2 separate regions of the Homo sapiens genome follow, and region 1 is linked to region 2. Evidence: promoter capture Hi-C in 16 types of primary human blood cells and fetal thymus (Javierre and others, 2016). All regions are on one chromosome and are shown on one strand. Each heading gives the region's core, a stretch centred on a gene start or on the middle of the fragment in contact. The rest is flanking DNA. Distances are from core to core; before and after follow the strand shown.

The links. The method cuts DNA at HindIII sites, captures the fragments that hold promoters and counts their contacts. A CHiCAGO score of 5 or more calls a contact.
Region 1: a fragment that was not itself captured here is called in contact with the fragment with the promoter of KY in region 2 in 1 of 17 cell types (endothelial precursors); the score reaches 5.3 in endothelial precursors.

The regions. Positions count from the first base shown.
Region 1 is chr3:135,501,284-135,508,334 of GRCh38, forward strand. The region is part of intron 1 of LOC105374122 (a long non-coding RNA gene); the gene reads right to left. Among named protein-coding and RNA genes, the nearest start is that of PPP2R3A, 460 kb to the right of the region's middle. RefSeq lists a silencer at 2,344-2,638. The HindIII fragment of the contact is 5,171 bases long and covers 1-4,651 here.
Region 2 is chr3:134,647,997-134,654,499 of GRCh38, forward strand. KY (kyphoscoliosis peptidase) reads right to left here and starts at 3,026. Exons shown (of 11, transcript NM_178554.6): 1 at 2,829-3,026. The coding sequence starts at 2,964. It also overlaps a transcript of CEP63 not described here. The HindIII fragment of the contact is 8,919 bases long and covers 1-6,503 here.

The DNA of each region.
Region 1 (7,051 bases), core at 816-3,315, 850 kb after region 2:
TGACAGACACTGTATCATTAATCCTTGTAATGGCATTATAAGGTAGACATTATGATTATCCCCATATTACAAATGAGCAACTGAGTCATAATCAAGTAACTTGCTTGAAGTCAAAATTTTTAATAACCTGGTGGAGGTGGGTTTCAAACCCAAGGCTATCTGATTCCTTGATTCAAGACACAAGGGGCTTAGAAATTGCTCTTAGATGATTTTCTTTTCTTTGTATATGCTTACTATCACACATCAAAAGTCTCCACATCCTCCATTCATGGACTAGAATCCTTATCCTTGAGGGTGATGGAGGGAGGAAAGTCTACATGTTCTGGAGAATAAAACCTGGGCACATTTATTGAGACTTTATTACATGCCAGGTCCTCTACGTTTATTATATCCACTTTACAAGTTGGGAAACTAAACTGCAGAGAGGTAATGTAACTTACCCAAAGTCACAAACCTAGTAAGATTCAACCCAGGCTGTCGGACAGGTTTAACCATTGCACATAACTGTCTCCTTCAGAGGAGTTTCTTCTCAGATTCAAAGTCTGAATCTTGCTCATTCTGCACAAAAGGTAACCTGAATGGTGTAAGGGCCCAAAGAGCTGCTGTTCCACTAAGCCAGAAACATCAAGCCAGTACTCACCTTGGGATCAGTGGTGGTGAACACATTGGGGCTGACAGATTGTTTCAGCTAAATGCAAATTCACTGAACTAAAAGCCCAACTAGGACCAAACCAAGCACAAAGATGGCCGCAAGACCGTGAATTAACTCTGCCTACTTCTAGTTCTCCTTAGTTATAGCTCAAATGTCACATCCTCAGAGATGCTATCCCTGCTGAGCTTAGCTAAAGTAATGCTCCCTTGCTCAGGTCACTAGCTACCCCACACCTTACTTATCCTTCCTCTTAGTGTTTTTAACTCTAGAAAAATATCACTTTATCATTTATGTGTTTATTGTCTGTCTCCACCCATGAGAATGTAAGCTCCATTTTTCCCATGCCTAGAATGTCTGGCACATGGTAGGCATTCAATAAATATTTGATGAATGAATGATTGAATAAATTTGTTAATTTGCATTGGCATCTGGGGAAAACACTTCAAGCTCTAGACAAATACACAGGTTTCTCTTCAACTTAAGCACCTGGGACAGTAGAAAGAGGGACAAATAGCTAAACTGATAGGATGGCATTAGAAAATGGCATCAGAAAATGGCATCAGGATTAATGCAGGTGGTCACTTTTTAAAAGCTCCTTCTTAGAAATGGTAGCCTTCTTCTATTCCCATGGGAGGTGGCACGACCCACTACAGGGCATTTAAGTATGCCAGTAGAAGCTCAATTTAGTAGTTCCCTAAATTGTAGTAGGTCGAAGCTACAAGGGAGAGAGACAGTGGTGGGAGGGCGCCCTGGGAGAGCGCACTAAGGAGGAGGTGCAGTCCAGGGATGGTCCCCGTGACGCCCAGCAGTGACAGCAGGCAGAGCCCTAGGACCACAGTAGAGTGGCTGCTTGTGGCCCTCACCTGTTGGTTTATTATTCTCATCAGCAGTAATGGAGGTTCCCCCAAGAGCCACACTCTCTAGCCTGCCTTTCAGTGTGGGCAGAGGCAGGAGAAATAGTATGCATGGCTAGTGCTTTTTTGGATGTCTGCACCCCACTGGGAATCATTTCCATTTTGCTTCAAAATTTAAATAAATAAAAACACAAATAAACAAAACAGAAGCTCTCTGATGCGGATGAGAGAGTCATCCCTTGCTCATTTTTGTATTCCTAGAAAGAACATAAACCATACACGATCTTTTCCTGTTTTTTGGTACAGTTATTGCAGGCTGGCTTTTCTCATTCTCTTTTGAATACCTCGAGCAGAACACCCCTCGTGTTGTTAATGACTTCAAAGATACCGGGTCCACTGTGCGGCAAGTGATAAAAATGTACACAGCATGTGTTGGATAAATTAATAAACTCTCCAGAGCCTCAGAGTCCTCTGGCCCAGCAGCACCGTAATGAAATGTTATTCTGAAGTGGAGGAGGTGGGAAGGAGAAGGGGAGCAGTATTTAATATATGCAAATTAACTAGTATGCAAATTGCCACTAAGTTAAAAATAACGGACTGCGAGAGAAACCTATTTTTTAAGCAGCTTGTTTATTCATTAGCCTAATTTCCATTATCAATCCTTCTGTTTTCTTTTTTATTAAGTACTCACATTTGGGGAAGTTTGCTTCCTACAATTTGTTTTGCTCCAAAATCCATAACACTGGTAAGAACAATCACCATACATTAGCTTTTCTTGGTCTCATTCTTGATTTTGCTCCTAGCTTTCAATCCCTTTTTCTCTTTCTTTCTTCCTGCCCCTTTCCTTTTGCCGTTTTCTCCTATCACTTTCACTTGCCTTGTTTCTCTGGCACCTTTTGTTTCACTGCTGAATGCGACTCCATGAAGCATCAGGCAGGGGCGAAGAGAAGCCTCCTGTCCTATGAGGTCTGACTCCAGGGACCTGTTCTTCCAGCCACTCGCCCTCATAGGTGGACTCGGATGCAAAAGGCACCAAAATCCAGCTCCCCTGCACCTCAGGGCGTGTGCTACCATTATCCCTCTCCCAGCAACAGAAAAGCCAGAACAATGCACGCCCTGATTCGGGTCTGTATATGGCCTGCTCTGTGTAGAGACAGACCTTACACAATGTTAAAGACAAATTGGCAGCCAAAATCCCCGTCTTTTGTCTCAAGAAGCATCTACCTTGCTATGAGAGAGCTCTGGTGCCCCCGAGAGGCCGAGAACGGTACCGATTGCTGGGCCGGTTATGGGGAAGGCAGGAGGCTGGAGTACAGCGTACACAAAGCCCTGGGCAGCAGCGTGTCCAGAGGGGAGATCCTGAAAGAAGGGGTGCCCTTGAGCAGCTGGGGAGGGGACTCAAGAGAACATGCTTTGCCAAAGCTGCACATAGCTTGCAAGGCTAGTTTTTGTTTTAACCGTTGTCATTTTTCACAGGGTTTGTAATCACATAGTTATTACGAAGCATCAAAATTATTTTTTAACAAGAGGTTCTTGGTACATGGTGCTTAGCTGTAGCTGTGCAAAGCTGTTTGTGCCATTCCAGCTCCTAAGGGATGTGCATCTTAGACACACAAGCACATACTCTGAGGGGCGGTATCTCCTGGTGTCCTAGAGAAGCTGTGGCTGAGACCCACGGTGGAGAATCTCAAGGCTCGCCCTGTCAGGAGCCCTGCTCCACAGCAGGCTGTGCTGCAAGTCAGCTGCAAGGGATTCAACATGAACACAAATTCCCAGAGCAAATAACTCTTAACTCCCTCTCCCTCCTGAGTTCCCTCAGTTGCTATTGCTTATAACTCTCCTGGGAGACACACTATGTCAGAATAGGAACCACATTTTTCAGGTTTCAGCTCAAGGTCAGAGCTCTGTCATTCCCCTGCTAAAGTACCTATTACTCAGGGGCAATGATGTCAAATGTAAAAGGTCACACTTTGGCAGCTGCTAGGGATCGTCCACAGACAGGCGGTGGCTGGGGAATGAATTTGCACCAGTTCCTTAAACTCCAGCATGTACTGCAATCTCCCATTGCTCTTAGGGCTAAAAATGGTGTCAAAAGGCCAAAGACCTGAAAGAGGCAGATGATACCAGAAACAGTCACTGACACTAAGCTCAAGATGGAGTCAGAAAGATAAATCATTATTATTTAAGCTCTGCACGTTTTAATACATACTCTCTTTGCAATATTTCCATAGAATGAGGAAATAAATCACCCTGCTCTTGACATTTTTAATAACTTTAAGAATGTGGTTAGGGTAATACTTAACTTTATTGACATATTGTATGGTTCATCTGTCTCATCAAACCTCAATGAAACTTCAATGAATATTAACTGAGGACCCCTAATGTATTAGGTACTGCCTGAAAAATCTCCCAAACAGTCCCTATCTGCCCTCCAGGAGTTCTAACTTATTGGCTTGACTCCTGTCTGTGGAAATCAATAGCCCACAGGGTAAGGTTTTATGGAGTTGGGGGTAGGGACTGTTCAGATTCTAGCTGGAGGATTTGGTTCACTGGGCATAGGAACACCTCTTCTTAGACTCTGGCTATTTGTCCTCAGGTTTAGATGCCTTTCTTGAGCAACACAGACATGATGAATGGGAAGAAGACAGACCCTAGTGCCATTCAACAACTATGCCTCAAAGATAGTAGATGCAGCCTACTGTCTGTGATGTGTATGCGACATTGTTCTTCCTGGTCCCCTGCTTTCACAGAACAGAAGAGAGGCCTAGAGTGGACCTTAAACTCACCAAAGTCACATAACTAACTCTTTTATGGCAGAACAAGGAGTAATAACCAAGTGTCTTGATTTTCAGGCCAACTCCCTTTTCATTAGTAAATGATAATGGTGGTGTATTTTACAAACGGGTAGGGGAACAAAAGGAAAGGGGGTCAAATAATTCAAGTGCTGATAATGATAATATTTAACCCATTTCTCTAGGATTCGCTTTTTGTCACCTTGGATTCTCAAAGACACAAGTTTTCTCTCTCACCCTCAGGAGTTTTTTGAGCTGGTGCCTTTGCAAGAATACTCTGATCTCCAATCTTGTTCTCCCAGCCATTCTTAGACATTCTCCAGGTCTTTGTTTGGATATCACTACCTCTAGTAAGCTTTGCCTTGTTCCTCACATCTGAGCTAGGTGCCCTCTATATATTTTCAAGGTCCCCACCCCCTGTCCTCCATCACAGCTCCTACCACACTTTATTGTAATTTTCTTTTACTTCTCTGCCTTCTTCAATATTCTGTGAACCCCTGGAGGAGAGGAACTATATCTGTCTTGCTCAATCAAGATTATCTCTACAGACTCTAAAGTTGTAGAGTCTCTATAACTCTAAGAACGTGGTTATAGTCAACTTTACTGATATAGTGTACAGTGCATCCATCTCATCAAACTTCAATTAAATCTCAGTGGCCATTAAACGAAGGCCTAGAATGTACAAGGCAGTGATGCCTGGCACAGAGTAGATGCTCAATAAATATTTTAGAATGCATTAAGGAAGAGTGGAACATAGAACCTCATCAGGGAGAAAATGTCACTAGCCATTCCTGTCACAGAAGTATCCAATTTCTCCCTCCCCCCTGAATACATCCTTGGCTGCTAATCTGAGCATTCCAGAGTGAGACTTACACTGTCTGAGAAAACATGTTATAGGCTATGTAAAGATAAGAGAAAGGTACACACATTTGAATATGGTCCGTCTTATTTATAGGAGTAAACCTAACACTCAGGAAACACATCTTCTGGCTAGCAAAAGCCAAGGAAACAAGCAAATATTGGACAGAGAAATAATTTTGCAGAAATATTGCAAAAATTGTTTAATATCTTTGCTACATAAAGAATTCATATAAATTGATTAAAAAATAAAAGAATAAAGTCCTCAATAGATAAGTAGGCAAGGGACATAAACAGAAAATTTCTATAAGGAAAGCCTTAACTAGCAAATAAAAATATATAAAAATATCCAACCTTGCCTGTTAAAACAATTGTGTGGTATAGGACCTGGATCCAGAGATAAGAAAGGGTCGGTTGCCCCTCTTACCCCGGCCTTACTCACTCACAGCAGGACTCGTTGTTGCTGCTGTATTTCAATGGGCAAGGTGAGGCATTGTTTGAGTATAAGCCCCCAGGTCCTTAATAGGCTAGGAGAGATGCAAAGAGCAACACAGTGAACAGCACAAGAATGAGAATTCTGAACTGGTAGCCAATAGAGTGGGAGGAAGCTGGACAACAAGAAGAGGGATGCAACGGCACAGAGGTGGCTTTGCTTGTTCCAGGATGCAGTGCCTAATGTGGCTAGCCCACTGCCTGGCACATGACAAACACTAGAAAACTGTGGGACTAAAAATACAATATTGCACATGGAGGAGAAGGAGTCAAAAATATAAATGAATGTTTGAAACAAGGTAATATGTTTAAATATGACACAATCCCAGGGGCTTTATGATTTGCTGTGAAAGTGTGTTTTTGGCTTCTTGTTCAAACAGCTGCCATGTAGGGTTCCCTCTGGTGCATCCACCAGAAGGGAAATGAGATTCATTAATGTATAATATCAGCATGGCTCCTAGGTGCCTCACAAATTCAGACATGGGTCTGAGAAACAAAATGATAACAAAAATATGATTTACCCTATTAAATTTTCAGAAGTTAAAAATAAAGATAATATTTTATTGGTGCAGTATAAATATAAACACAACAATTTTTTGAAACTTTTTGAAAGCAGTCTGGCAATATCTATCAAGCACCATGTATCAATTAGTTATTGTGGCAAGAACGTTGTGTAACAAATACATCAAGAGAGCCTGTAAAATCTGCAAGGAGTTACACATGTGTTTCTCTACCTGGGCAATGCGGAAAACAGGGTAACGCCAACCCACCAATGGGAGGCAGCTCAGTCACTGGGCTCCTTTTCTGAGCTCAAAGGGCAATGCATAGAGTTCAACTGAATTCTCATAATTGCACATTAAAAATTCATTGAAAGGAACTTCATAGGGTCATAGAAGTGTTCTATATCTTGAATGCGGTTAAGCAGGTATGTTCACCTTTCAAAACTCATTAAAATAATCACCTAAAATATGTTAATTTTATTGTATATAGCTTATTCCCCAATAAAGTTTATTTAAAAAATAAAACCCAGTTGAGAATCACTTTAACTTTAAAATTTGAATTATAGAAAACTGGTTTTATCTGAAAGCAGGCTGGAAAACTTAAGTTGAATCAAAAACTATAGTTGTTTCAGTTCTGGCTAAGACGAAATAACAGGGACTGAATTTTGTCCTCCTGTCTGAAATAAACAAGGACAAAACAACACATGAAAGAACAGTTTTCAAGACATTGACTATCAGCAAAACAACAGATATCAGTGTGGCAATGCCTGAGAGATGCAGAACAAGTGAGGGGAGCTGTACAATTACCCCAGCTTGCTACCTTTAGAACATTTCCAGACCATGGAGCAAGAAGGAGGATATCAGGCGGAGACCAGCAAACTTCCCTAGTTTAGGGTACAGAGC
Region 2 (6,503 bases), core at 1,776-4,275:
TGGCCAATCTGATGTACCTGTGTTTCACTCTGCCTTGGGACCTGGTGATGCAACAGGGAAGGGAAGGAAAGCTCTCGCTCTGGCTGCGGCTGCAAGTGGTAGCCGCAAGGTCGAGTTCCTGGCACAGCATGGGGATACGTTCTGGCAGCGGGAGCTGCTGCAATAAAATTGAGATCCTGGCGCGGAAGGAGTATTCAGTGCTCCTTGGTGGCCGAGGAGGTTTCCTCACTAGACCAGCTCGTTGGTGCTGCTTACGGTACTGTTCCTGGAAGCTCAGCCTTGAGTCTTATTCTCCAGCCCTCTCAACCACTCAGGGGCCGCCACTCTCTTCTTAACACCCTTCTTTTCTGCAGAGCCCCCCATAGCCAGTGCCAGTGACTTACCACTTGGAACCCTCATGACACACCTATGGAGTAGAATACACAAACCACATAGACTTTTGGGATAAGACCTAAGACTTCAAAGCTCATTGGGTCTTGCCCCAGGCAGCTATAGGCTATATCCTCTACTGCTGCAGGAGTATATGCACTCTACTTTCTGATAGGAGTTGAGGGCTTTCAGGCACGTTTTGGAGAAGCACTGTTCTAGGGAAATGACTGGGAGGCTGCTAGGGCCTTACAGAAATGGGAGAGAACATCTGCTGGCTCTGCAGCCCAAATTCCTAGTGACCTAGCCTGTCCACACTCTCCTTGCCTTCTTGTCCCCCTGACTCTTTTCTTCCAGCAGAAGGGCCACTTCCAGCAGAAGGCCCTTCCAGCAGAAGGGCCACTCGTTACGGATTACTCCATCCTCTGCATTGCAACAATAATTGAGCTTTGATCTTTTCTGACATGGAGCCTAGGCCCTCTTTTATATAACCAAGGAAGATCCACTCTCCAGTGGAGGATCTGGAGTGTGGAGGAGAAAGGAGGAGATACCTGGAAGTGAGCAAGAGTTTGTTTTATATCTTGCACCCATGGGAGGCTTTGGAACAAGCTGGTCTTATTGGGCATTTTCCTCCCTTAGGCTGTTTTTCGAGGAAAGGGTCTGCAGGCTGGCTTTGCCTGGGGTCTCCTGAATATCATCTCTGCCCACCAGGCATCAAAAGCCATGCACTTTTCCTCTTCTCTGCTCTGGTTGTGAATAAGTGACACAGATCTCTACACTGTCATTCATAGCATCGGTGAGAAACGGCCATCAGAAAAATATTTGGAGAAAAAGTTCAGCAGAAAGGGCCCAGCCATTAGGGGTCTTTTTTTCTCTGTCATAGTCACTAGTGTGCATACATGAGTCTGGAGCCATGGCGAGTTTGTGCTAGGTGTTGGGCACCTCTCAGGGCAGTCCTGATGCCTGGTGTTTCCTGGGCTTCTCTGCATTCTTTGCCCTTTCTAGTGTCAGAGCCTTTAGAAGTGATGTGATCAGAGAGGATTGGGAGTAGGGGACTCGTGGGCTGACCTGGAACTAGGCCTCGCCACACACTGGAGAAGGCATTCTGGACTGTGGTACATGTATTCAGAGCAGTCTCATTTCTATCAAGAAGTTGATGCCCTCTGTTGACTTTCTAACTACAAATACCCTGGGCAGGCCATTTCCCCTTCTCCCAAGAGTAGGTCTGATAACTAAAGAGCCAACGAATCCAAACAACTCCTGCTTCAGTCAGGAATCAGCCCTGAGACTAGAGCGCCTGTCAACATACTCAGCCCTCTAGATTCTGTTTCTTTCCCCTGCCTGCCTTCCCAAGAGGTTCCCAGGGCTCTGGAGGCAGCTCCAGCCTATGTGGCTGGTAGTGGCAAGGCCATCCACAGCAGCATTACTTAAGCAAGGCAGGTGGAAGGTGGATGTTCAATGAGCACAGAGGCTCTGGGGACAGAAGAACCAAGGGCAGAGCAGCAGCAGGAATTCCAAGGAGCTCCAGAGCTGGAGGGGAGGAGAGAGGCAGAAGTCATTCTCCTGCATGGGCTGTCAGGCCTAACTCCTAAAGAACTGGCCCGCAGTCCGCCTAGTGCATCCTCACACCAGCCTCGGAGACAGCTTGCCATCCAGGACCCTGAGGTTCTCTGGCTTTTCAGGGGCTTATTTAACCTCCATTATCATCCCTCTGTACTCCATTCACATTGTGTTCTGTCGTCTGGAGAACAGAGAGGCCCGGATCCTGCTTTCCACAATCACTCTATAAACAGTCACTTTATTTTACCAATCTACAACTTACAAATTTACCCAGAAAGTGTGTAGGACAAGTAAAATTGATGGATAAGTTCAAGTGGAGACAGCAGGTTTCAAATCTTACCCTATCCAAACCTGCGTTCCTTTTACGCCTTTCATGCCTTCCATCTATAGGAGGCTGGGAGAAAGTCTCAAGAAAGGAGAAACTGAGGCTGTAAATTGTGCAAGGCCACACAGGGAGCTCCCCATCTAAAAGTCTGACTCAGCCCAAAGGTTTCCCAGCGTCCCCTGTGCCCTGCAGTGTGCTGTGGGGGGGAGCAGGCCTCTGCTACCCATGAGTCAGCCCTGAGGCTCTGGCCGCCTTCCTCCAGGGTATCTTCCAATCTTGCTCTACACCCGTTAGGGAGTGGCTGGGAGGAAAAAGACTCCCAGGGGTGACGGAAGCACCCACAGGCCTGCACAGGGAGTGAAACTGGGGCAATCACGGGGCTGCGCGTTGCCACGGGACTGCGCGTTGCCACGGGACGCCGGTGCCACTGCGGGGAAGCGACGGCAGCCATGGGGGAGAGGGTCGGGTTCGCTGACCTCGTTCGGGGGAGCAATGGGCGCCCCCCGGCGGGCAGGCCCTTGTGGCAAGGAGGCCAAGGTGCCGGGGGACCCGGGGACCCGGGTCGGGCGCGCGTTACCTCCTCCGCGCTGCAGCAGCGAGCTCGGGTTCGCCTGCTGGTCTGAGAGCGTACCCTGTGCGGCGCGCCGCTTCTCCGAGTGCACGATCAGCAGCATGTCGATAGATACAGCGTTGATGTCCTTCTTCAGCTCCATGATGCCGCCTCCTTTCCGACCTGGGCGCCGCGGCCGCACGCTAGGCTGCTTGCGCTGCAAATGGCCCCGTGCGCGCAGCTGCCCCACACGGGAGAGGGCGAGGGCGCGGAAGAGGGCGCTCCCCCGCCGCTGGAGCCGCAGGGCGCTGCTTTTCGCTGACTCTGCCAAACACGCCATTAGGGCCCGCCTGGGAGGGCGCTACCCTAATGAAGCGGCTCTAAGTCACCTTTGAAAGGAAATCCCCGGGCCCAAGCCTTGACCTGCACCGGGGCCATAGTCAGCAGGGGCGGCCGGTCCAGAGCCTCCCTCCCTGCGCCCCTGCCTCCCGCCCGGTGCACTTGAAGCGCTGGTCCTGGGCTCCAGGGCTTCTCTGGCTGAGCGCTGCCTCATCCCCACGGTCTCCGGAGGGTTCTCGAGAGGGCTGGAGCCGACCTCCCACGAGAAGCCCCTGGCAAATACAGAAATCGCACAGTGCTGTCAACATTGAGAGTAGATTCAGGAAAAGGAAAGACAGCAAAGGGGCTCCAGATTGAATTGCAAGATGTGCAGAGATTGTCCAAGTTTTGGCCTCGACCTCACTCCTTCCCTGGGTTGGTTTTGGAGGTTGACAGCTCTCTCTCCCTAGGAGGGAGTTGGGTGGGGTGTTGGAGTCAGGAGCTCCCCCCAGTTACGGCCCCTGTAGAACTTGGAACATGCCCATTGAGTATCAAGCTAACGATCCTCTTTGATCTGAAACGAAAGTCTTAAAGTCTCGGTTCGTTCTAGAAGCCTGGCTCCTGCCCTGTGGGGAAGGAGGGAGGGGGAGAGGAGGAGGCTGGGGCACAGGGAGCTGGACCTGAGAAGCCTTCTATTTTTAGCCCGGCCTGGCCTGCCCAGCCAACAGCAGCAGGGGTTTGGCTGTAGGTCTCAGGAGTGTTTACATAGGCTTCTGCCTGGTACCCCTGGGCACTACGGGCCCACCCTGCTGGGGGCGTTCCCCTAATTCGAGTTTCTACTGTTAATAAATGCACCCCCACATGGAGGCCTTTGCTCTGGGAGCCCTCCCCGCATTGGAGTGTATGGACCCCACCTTGTAGCATGGTCCTGAGAGTTCCCAGATCCTCCTTGGAGCAGCCTGTGTCACACAGACTGCATTCCAGTACCAGCTCCATCACTTCCTGGCTGTGTGACCTTGGACCAGCCATTTTCCCTCCACCTTCTCACCCTTATCACTGGGTTGATAAAAATTTCTCACATGGCTGTTGTGAGAATGGCATGAATGTAAGGCGCCTGGTGTATAGAAAGTGGTCTTCATATGGTAGCTGTCATTCTTACTTCATTTTAAGGGTGAGGAAAGGGAAAGATGGAGTGACAAGTGACTGATGGAGCAGAGAAGCAGGAGAGATGTCACAGCCACACTCTGAGATTCTGAAGGTCTTCCTCCAATAACAGTGGCTCAGAGTTTGGTTCCGTGTAAAGGCTGTTGTCTTATTGCATTACCAGCGCCCCCCCCCACCACCCCACCCCCTGACTCACCCACTGGGCATCTGATGGAAGGAGAGGTTGTTGGCTTCCAGTAATGTTGAACTGGAGTCCCTAGAGAGCTGAGGCCATAGACAGGCAAGTGGAGATGGCTGACTTCCAAGGCAGGTTTCCTTCTGCTAAAGTGAGTCTTGTCCTGTCTGTATGTGTGCAGGTACACACACACACACACACACGCGCGCGCGCACACCTGGGAGGCTGGCTAACACTTACTCTCTATGTGGCTGGGGAAGTAAGAACTATGCATTATGCAAAGCTCTTGGGGTGTTGGAGATTGCTGAGGCAGATCTCAGGTCCCAGAGTCCCCCCAACTACCCTGGGCCAGTCAGTGTTGTCTAACTCCTTCAAGTGTCAGGTTGTCTGAAGTGCTGAAATCAACTAGAAGCCTGTGTACAGCACCCTTGGTTGCCGGATGGGTCTGAGTGTTGGTGATGGTGGGGGGAGCTGAAGTCCCCTTTCCTTACACTTGCATTCCCATCTCCCAACCCTTGCTCTCCTGCTGGAAAGTGTCATTGCTAGGAACTCGCAAACTCTGGTGCCCCCTCCCAGAACTGCCTCTGGAGAAGGATATTCTGACCTGGGAATGTGCTGCCAGGGGTCTGGGGAAATGGTGTGGAGGCCTCCTGTCTCTCTGCTATGTCTGAAGACAGCTTCGGAGCAGGGCCTCTCATCCTTGGCGCTATTGACATTTTGAGCCAGATAATTCTCTTTGGTGGGGCTTTCCTGTACACTGTGGGATGTCTAGCAGCATCCCTGGCCTCTACGCATTAGATGCCAATCACATTCACTTCCCTATTGTGAGAACTTAGAATGTCTCCAGACATTGACCAATGTTTCCTTTGGAAAGAATTGCAGTGTGAACACCGCTTTGGAGCAAACTCCTGAAATTGGAGTCACCTCGACTGCTCTGGGAGATGCTGCTGCCCCTGGATCCTGATGGTGCCTGACACCTAGACCCTCTTCTCAGAGGTTTACCCATGGCCATCAGTCCAACAGCCTAGCTTCTGGGGCCTGCCAGGAGCATAGATGAGATGCTCTTCTTAATGCCAACTCTATTCCCATCCTTGGCCTGGGTTGACTTAGCTGCTTCCCCTCTTCCCCACTATCCATTCTTGGGCTGAGAGGGAGACACCATGGGGAAGGTGATGTGGCTGAAGGCATTTGGATGTATCAGGAAAGGGGAAGGAGAGACAAGAGAACACTGAGGTGGCTGGGATATCATTCAAGTAGAGGCTGTATCCCTTCTGCTCAAATCCTCCCTCCAGCTGCTCACACAATCAACGGGACAAATAACAGAACGCTCAGCCTGCAAATCTCCAGACCCATCTCTTCCTTTTTCCCTACCAAACCCACACATGCTTCAACAGAAACCATGTCCTCTACACCCCAAACACACCATACTAGCCCCTCCATCCTGCTACCATCTTGAATAAAAAAGATGCAAGGCTCTCTGTATTCCGACCTAAATAATTAATCTGCATCCTTGTCTTAGTAGCTGACAAACCAGGGGCTTTCTCCATTCTTGAGCAAAACTTTATTTTAATCAAAATGAGTGGGAATTCCAGGATACAGAAAGACAAAGGACAGTCAAAATAGTTGTATTGTCACCTTTGTCAAATTCAACACTTAGACACATCCAGCTGTCAGCAGCCCTGCATCCGATACTCCTCTGCTAGAAGGTGAGATTTGTCAGTTGTCTGAATGGTTCTGGGCCCTGAGTTGGTTCTGCTGTCTTGGAGATAAGGAGGGTTCACCAGGGGCAGGGCTTGCTCCTGGCAGTTGAAGCTGTCACCAGAGAGGAGTGTGTTTTGACCCCCACTGTTTTCCCTCAGAAATGGTAGTTTTGCTGGGACCATCAGTCATAGCTGTTTTTACCACTCTTGGGATTCCAAGAGGCAAGTTTCTCTCTTCTCTATAGAGATAGAGTAAGTAAGCCAATGCAATAAAGGCTTTTGGCAGGGAATTTTCTCCATTGATGACGTGGGGAAGAGGCACACAGAGAGTTCTGTGAGTTGGTG